Linked DNA regions of Homo sapiens: region 2 is linked to region 1. Evidence: promoter capture Hi-C in human tissues and cell types (Jung and others, 2019). All regions are on one chromosome and are shown on one strand. Each heading gives the region's core, a stretch centred on a gene start or on the middle of the fragment in contact. The rest is flanking DNA. Distances are from core to core; before and after follow the strand shown.

Region 1 (4,214 bases), core at 1,715-4,214:
GATTGCTTGAGGCCAGGAGTTCAAGACCAGCCTGGGCAACATAGGGAGACCCCGTCTCCACAGAAACATTTTTAAAATTGGCCAGGCATAGTAGCTCACACCTGTAGTCCCAGCTACTCGAGAGTCTGAGACGGGAGAATCAGATCGCTTGAGCCTGGGAGGTTGAGGCTGCAATGAACAGTGATCATACCACTGCACTCCAACCTGGGTGACAGAAGGAGACCTCATCTCAAAAAGTAATAATAATTTAAAAATTCAATTTCTTCACTGTCCATAAAATTGAATGCATTTGTTAATTCAGAATAATCTCTTATGTAAATAATGCCAAATGCAGTGTTATTCAAAAAGTATCTATTCCAAATATTTGCACAATATAAACATGAGCTAATATGTTCAAGAATTGAAACTAACACCAGTTTCACTGGCCATGCTGCATATTTCAGTGCCTATTTGTTAAAAGCACTAAGACTAGAGTTTAAGGTCAGTGTGTAGATCTGTTTGCTCATAAAACATTAATTGCATAAATGTTAAGGACCAGTTGCCAATAACAAAGATCTAATTCCTCAGGCATATGTATTCCAGTGAGTTTTCCAAAAGCAATTAACTGATAGGGAAAACTATCAGTTGATAAACATATGTCATAATATAGTATTTTTTAATGAGTGGGAACAACTTTTTGCTTAACTGCTTATTTTCTTTTTTGTTGTTGTTTTTTTGAGACGGAGTCTCTCTCTCTGTCGCCCAGGTTGGAGCGCAATGGTGCGATCTTGGCTCACTGCAAGCTCCGCCTCCCGGGTTCACGCCATCATCCTCTTGCCTCAGCCTTCCGAGTAGCTGGGACTACAGGCACGTACCACCACGCCCGGCTAATTTTTTGTATTTTTAGTAGAGACGGGGTTTCATCGTGTTAGCCAGGATGGTCTCGATCTCCTGACCTCATGATCCGCCCGCCTCGGCCTCCCAAAGTGCTGGGATTACAGGCGTGAGCCACCGTGCCCGGCCGCTTGTTTTCATATTGACATGAATATCATTCAATTTTGTGAAACTGTAATTATTTAAATTGTGAGTGAGTCAGGATCAGTATGAATGCAAAAATTACTCAGGATTTTTTGGAGGGAGTAGGGAATGGCCTCACTAGATTACAATGCAGAAACCTCAGTCTGTGAATTGGCTCATCTGTCTTTGACCATTTCACTATTTCTTTGCAGCATTCAGGATGAAAATTTACCCACTCAAGAATAGCTAACGATATGCTCCACTCTAAAAATTAAAATTCATCCTAGTTCTAAAACACATTTTAAAAGAGCAATGTTTTTATCACGACTCTTGGAAGTGAAAGGGGTGTTGTGTGGGTGTGTGTGTGTTGAGGGAATCGGCCTCCGATTCCCAGTGAAAATGTTCCCATGAAGTCAACGTTTCTGCAGTGACTCAGGGCACTGTGGAAAGCTCTCAGGAGCTCTAGGGTAATAATCAGACGTGTCCTGGCCATTACAACTCCATTTGTGTCAGATGATGTCATGCATATGTAAATTAACTAGATGTCACACAAAGGAGACCCATCCCACTTAGGATAAGACTAGGGACTGGTCCTTAGACATTAGGAAAGCACCAGGTCTCACCACTTCTTAAAACACTTGCTGCAGACGTGTGTATTCGGTTTCCCTGCACACCTGCTATATTCTGAGACAAAGAAAGGGACTTCAAAAAGTCCTTAAGAAAACCAAACAAACACTCTAAGTAGCAATGCTTCTGGTAGAAGAGAAACAAAATTCTGTCCCTTCCTTCAAGGCCCCTTAGGATTCACTCTGAGAAAGCTGGACAAAGCATGTCACAGCTTATGTCTGAAAGCCCGCAAAGCCAAGGAGTAAAAACCCAGGAAACGTGCAAGGAGGGTGCCCAGGGGGTTATGAAAGTTACTACAAATATTTCATTTCCTGAAGTGCACCTGCGAAGGTGAGTGCGGCAGGCGGAGGGGTCGGGGGTCCCGGCAAAAGGTACACGCGCCCGGACCACGCTGCTACTCACGCTTCGCCATCCCCGGAGTCGCCGTCCGAGGCCCCCTCCTCGCCGATGTCAGGCAGCGTAAGGAACAGGGTTCTGGGGCCAGCCCCGGGGGCCACGCAGGCGCCGAGCTCTCGCTCTCCGGGGCCAGGCTGGAGCGGGTTCCTGGGGAGCGCGGCCCAGACCCCGCCGGGGCCCGAGGGCGGCCGCGCTGGGACCACCAGGCGAGCAGGGGAGCAGCCCCCGCCGGAGGGAGTGGGGGGCTGGGGCGGGGCTTTACCCGCTCTAGGGCTACTGGGCCAAGAGAGCAGGGTCCCCACTGCTCCCGCGGCGCGGCTGGCGGCGGAGCCCCGGGAGTAGGGGGAGGAGAGCAGCGGGGCGGGCGACCGCCGCGAGGCGGAGGGGGAGTCCGGAGCCAGGGCGCGGAGGAGGGTCGGGGCGGTACCCAACGGGGTGCCCGCCCTGGAGCCCCCCGACCCTGCAGCGGCAGCACCTCCCGAGGGTCTGGAGGAGGGGCCTGCGGGGGGCGCCGTCGAGGTCTCGAAGAGTTTGGCCAAGAGAGACCCAAGGTCCAGCACAGCAGCCTTCATGCCTCGACAGTGGACACGCCGTCCTCGCCGCCGCCCGAGAGTTCAGACCGCGGAGATCCGGCCGAGGCGGCCCGGGCCGGGGCGAGGAGCCTGAGGTCCCCGCACCCGGAGCCCCGGAGGCCCCTGGCTCCCTCTCCTCCCCGAGGACGCTCAGCTCCGCGCCGCTGGGGTCGCCCTTCCCCGGCCCGGGTCCGTCCGCCGAGCGCCCCGGCTGCGGAGAGCAGCCCCGCCTCGTCCCAGCGCCGTGAGACCCCCGAGGGCCGAAGGGCCAGGAGCCCCGGGAAGCGCGGCCGCCGCCCGCCCCAGACGCCCGCCGCCCGCCGCCCGCCGCCCGCGGTTGCTACGTTCAACACACCCGGCCGCGCTCCAGGCTAATTGGGCCCCAGGTGCGGCTCGGGCTGTGCCCGCGGGGGACGTCCCACTCCCCGCCTGGTTCCGCCTTAAAGGAACACGCCCCCATTTCCCCTGCGCCCCGAGCCTCGCAGATCCCATCCGCCGAGCTCAGGGCCCAGGGCTGGGAAAGAGAATCCTGGCTCCAGAAGGTTCTGGAACTTACCCAGCCTGACAAGCTTGCACGTGCTGGGGTCAGGCCACCTCTCTGACGATAGGGAAGGTGGGTAGAAAGATGTATTTGGGCGAACGAGCTTGAAACAGCAGCATCCACTCCCCCACCCCAGGGTCCTACTCAAACCCTGTTACTAAGGGTGGGGTGGGAGCAACCGCGAGGTGCGCCACCCACTAACCTGCAAACAAGACCGGCTCTGAGAGCTGAAGTAGAAAGACCTACGCACACCTGTTTAAACACCTGTCGGAGTGAACCAAGAGACTGTGTAATTCAAATGTTTGAGAACTCAAATTATAATCGGAACGACTACAAATTCAAAGACAGATATGGAAGGCAACGTTTTCTATTCAGTGGAATAAATTGTATTTTGCTTAATCTGAAAAATATGTGTGAAAGGTAGAGCGTATAGGTGCGAGCATCTAAAGGGGTGTGGGGTCAGTGTTGAACAGAGTTAAAAAATAAGATACTGCAGCCAGGCTCGGTGGCTCATACCTGTAATCCCAGCACCGGGATTGGGAGGTGGGAGGATGGCTTGAGCCCAGGAGTTCCAGGCCAGCCTGGGCAACAACATAGGGAGACCCCATCTCTACAAATATTTAAAAAAAAAAAAAATGCCGGGCCTGGTGGCGCATGCCTGTAGTCCCAGGTACTCGGGAGGCTGAGGTGATCGCTTGGGCCTGGAGTGAGCCGTGATCGCACCACTGCATTCCAGCCTGGGCAGTAGAGTGAGACCCTGTGTCAAAAAAATAGTAATGAGATATTGATGGAGTTTGTCCATTAATATTCAGGAGAGGATCTCAGGAGATACATTTCCTGATGTGGGGTAGGGAAAAGAGATGAATTAAGTCTGGCAGTGAATAAACTGACATTCATGCTTATATACTTGAATCTTTTGTAAGTTATCAAACTGGAGTCTGAGCCACGGTAAACTTCCAGGTAATGCTAAGTTTTGCGTTATTTGGAGGCAGTTAACAAGTCTTCTGTCATGATCCCTTTTCTACATCTAACTGCCACCAACATGTACTGGGCACTTGTCTGCTTCAAGATTGCATTAAGCA
Region 2 (4,210 bases), core at 1,430-3,929, 45 kb after region 1:
GATCATGCAAATTGACCTCCATTTTATAATGCAAATTTTAAATCAACAGGAGAAATTAAAAGAAAGCCCAGAGTTGGAAGGGATGCTGTTGCTTTTGAACATGCCTCTTGCTTTTCACCTAAGAGTAACCTTTATCTGTATCATGGGATGATCTTATAATAAGAATATGAGAGCTGGTCCCTAAAAAGTAGGAAGTAAAAGTGGAAAGAACTGGGGAGAGGGAAGCCTTACTATCATAAATATTTGTTGATAAAATAGGTAAATCCAAAACTCAAAAAGAAACCTCTAATATAGTTTACAGCATGTATAGAATGCCTAGTCTTATTCTTTATCTAGAAATAGGACTGTTTAAGAGGTGAGTGTATACTTTAAAGTCATCAAAAAAAAGTAGCATTTCTTTTTCTTTAAATTAGCTGTTTATGTCATTTACTTGATTTTTATATTTTTATTATGGATTTGTAAGAGGTTTTATGGACATTACCGAAATTAGCTTTGGTCTAAGTGTGTTGCTAATTTTGCTTGATCTATTGTTTGCTTTTGGTTTTTCAAAGTGATAGTCTTAACTAGTCAAAACTTCCTCAAAGGATTGACATCAGCAAAATGGCAGACTAGGAAGTTTCAATTCCTCATTTCCCCATGGAACTATCATAAAATGACCAGAAAATTGCTGAACAAATCTTAGAGTAGCTCTGGAAAACAAAGGTCTACAACAACCACGTAAATACCTAATAAAAAATTCACCTTAAAAATGTAGGAAATTGTATGGCATTTTTCGTTACCCCTGCCCCACTCCGTCCTTGGCTCAGCATGGTCATGTTCTAGAGGAGGCAGCAGCTCAGCTTCTGGTTATCTCTTTTTGCCTCTCTGCAAAAGCTGAGAGAGGTGGCTGTTTATTCAAGTATTTAAGTGCCAACAAAAAATCATAGGGTACACAAAGAAGCAGTAAAACATGGTCCAATCAAAGGAAAATGTAAATCTCCAGATAATATCCCTAGAAAGCATGTATATTGGACCTACTAGACAAAGACTTTAAAATAGCTGTCTTGAATATGCTCAAAGACCTAAAGAAAAACACAAAGAACCAAAGAAAATGAGGACTACAATGAACGGACAAAATAAGAATGTCAGCAGAGACCACAGCAGTGGCCCATGCCTATAATCCCAGCACTTTGGGAGGCCGAGGTGGGCTGATCACTTGAGGTCAGGACTTTGATACCAGCCTGGCCAAAATGGTGAAACCCTGTCTCTACTAAAAATACAAAAATTAGCTGGGCATAGTGGCACGCACCTGTAATCCCAGCTACTTGGGAGGCTGAGGTGGGAGAATCACTTGAACCTGGGAGGCAGAGGTTGCAGCGAGCCGAGATCGCACCGCTACACTCCAGCCTGGGTGACAGAGCAAAACTCTGTCTCAAAAAAAAAAAAAAGTCAGCAGAGAAGTTGAAATTATATATATATATATATTTTTATATATATATATATATTATGCAGCTGAAAAATACAACTGAATTGAAAAATTTACTAGAGGGATTTCAACTGCAGATTTCAGAAAGCAGAAGAAAGAATCAGTAAATTTAAAGGCAAGACAATTAAAATTATTGAGTCTGAGGAGCAAAACAGGAAAGAAAAAAAAGAATAAACAAAAGGGAATAGAGTCTCATGGCCTTATGAAACACTGGCAAGCAGGCCACTATAGGCATTAGGGGAGTTTCAGAAAAAGAAGAGACACAGAACGGGGCAAGGAGGTGGTGTGAAGAAGTATGGTCCCAAATTTCACAGATGTGATGAAATACACGAGTCTAAAAATCCAAGAAGCCCAATGAACTTTAGGTAAGATGAACCTAAAGAGACTCACACTGAGACACATTATAATCAAAATAAAAGTCTAAGACACACATAATCTTGAAAGCGGCAAGAGAGAAGTTACTCACAACATACAAAAGATCCTCAGTAAAATTATTGGTGGATTTGTTAGTAAAAACCTTTGAGGCCAGAATGCAGTGAGGTGATATATTTAAAGTGCTGAAAGAAAAAAAAAAATCTGTCAATCATGAATTCTATATCTGGCAAAACTGTCTTTCAAAAATGAAGGAGAAATTAAGACATTCCCAGATAAGGAAAAGTGGAGGGAGTTCATTATCACTAGATCTGCCCTACAAGACATGCTAAAGACTAGGGATCCTTTAGATTAAAATAAAATCATTCTAGATGGTAATTCAAAGCCATATAAAGACATAAAGATCTTCAGTAAGCTTAGGCACATGGTTAAAAAAGAAACGTTTTATTATAATTTTGGTTTGTAACTTCACTTTTTTCTTTTCTGGAGAATTTAAAAGATAAATGCATAAAAATAATTATAAATCTATGTTAGTTGAGTACATGTTGTATAAAGACGTACTCTGGACATAAATAGCATAAAGTCACAGGAGGTGGAGATATTTATAAGTCCACTTGTGTGCAATTAAAGTTAAATTGGTATCAATTCAAATTAAATTGGTATGCCTTTAAAATGTTGCATGCAATTCCCACGATAACCACAAAGAAACTGCTGATAATATAGCTAACCAGATAATTCTAACCAGAATAATTCTAACCAGAAAGGAAAAAGAGGCATTAAAACGGATTCTATTTTTTAAAAATGTATTATAAGAGTACTGTGAAGAACCATATGCCAACAAATTGGATAATGTCAGTGAAATGGCCAAATCCTTAGAAACACACAACCTACCAAGACCGAAACATGAAGCCATAGAAAATCTGAATAGACCTATAACTAGTAAGGAGTTTGAATCAGTAACCAAAGCATTCCAACAACAAGATCTCTGAACTAGATGGCTTACTGATGAATTCTACCACACGTTTGAAAAATTAGCACCAACCTTTGTCAAACCTTTCCAAAAAATGGGAGACAAAGGAACACTTCTAACTTATTTGATGAGGCCAGCATCACCCTACTACCAAAGCCAAAGTCACCACAAGAAAAGAAAATTATAGGCCAGTATCCCTTATAAATACCGATATAAATATCTTTAACAAAATGCTAGCAACATATTTAACAGACTATACATCATGACCAAGTGGGATTTATTCCCGGAATGCCTTGATGGTTCAACAAACAAAGATTAATCGAGGTAATATTCCACATTGACAGAATGAGAAAGAAAGCCACATGATCGGCCCAGCACGGTGGCTCACGCCTGTAATCCCAGCATTTTGAGAGGCCAACTCGGGTGGATCACCTGAGGTCAGGTGTTTGAGACCAGCCTGGCCAACATGGTGAAACCCCGTTTCTACTAAAAATACAAAAATTAGCCTGGTGTGTTGGTGGGTGCCTGTAGTCCCAGCTACTTGGGAGGCTGAGGCAGGAGAATTGCTTGAACCCGGGAGGTGGAGGTTGCAGTGAGCTGAGATCGTGCCACTGCACTCCAGCCTGGGCAACAGAGCAAGACTCTGCCTCAAAAAAAATGCTACCAATAATAATAATAATAAATAAAAACAAAAACACATGATCATCTCATATGATGCAGAAAAAGCATTTGCTCCTGTTAAAAACCCTTTTATGATACAAATACTCAACTCTTTTATATGATTTAAAGATTGTTTTGATGACAGGGCAAAAAACAATGACTCCCAGATAGGTGAAAAGCAGAATTATTTGTTACTTACAGTTCCAAATAGAGAAGGCTGCCAGGCAGGGCCACGCAGGGGATTGAGCCTAGGCCGGGTTAACGGCAACCTGGAGATGTGGGAAGCAGTGTGCGTATGGCAAGCTGGGTGGAGCTGGCTAGATTCTGTGGGTTTCCTGTGGGTTGGCTATTTGAATACTTTCAGAGGGCTCTGGGGGATAGGGGCTGTCCCTTGTGCTATGGTAACTGGCCCTAAGGTGATTCGGGTGGCTGTGTAGTGGCCTGCAGCGTGAGAGCCCTGTAAGGGAAGTGGTTCAGTTGTGGACTTAATCACCTCCTCGATGAGGGGAGCTGACCAGCCTCTGACCAGCTTCTCACAACTGGGTCAGGACAGATTTTTAAAAAGCTGTATTACAGTTGACTCCTTGATGCCTTGATCTCAGTTTTAAGCCTAGTTTTTTTTTGGTGGGTGTGTTGGGGGAGGTACTTGAGTAGCCCAAATAATAGAGATTTCCAGAGAGTAGGGCATAAGTTGTCTTAGACAGCATAGAAAACAACTTATTATGAGAGTCAAAAAGAGAAAA

What was found. Contacts are between HindIII fragments. The study calls those that stand out against the background at their distance.
Region 2: a contact is called between a fragment that was not itself captured here and the fragment with the promoter of FAM149A in region 1, in 1 of the 25 tissues and cell types used here (mesendoderm cells).

What each region holds. Positions count from the first base shown.
Region 1 is chr4:186,103,454-186,107,667 of GRCh38, reverse strand. FAM149A (family with sequence similarity 149 member A) reads right to left here and starts at 2,964. Exons shown (of 14, transcript NM_001395294.1): 1 at 2,026-2,964. The coding sequence starts at 2,591. RefSeq lists a silencer at 2,985-3,044. The HindIII fragment of the contact is 14,554 bases long and covers 1-4,214 here.
Region 2 is chr4:186,058,519-186,062,728 of GRCh38, reverse strand. No RefSeq gene overlaps it. Among named protein-coding and RNA genes, the nearest start is that of TLR3, 8.5 kb to the left of the region's middle. The HindIII fragment of the contact is 3,511 bases long and covers 924-4,210 here.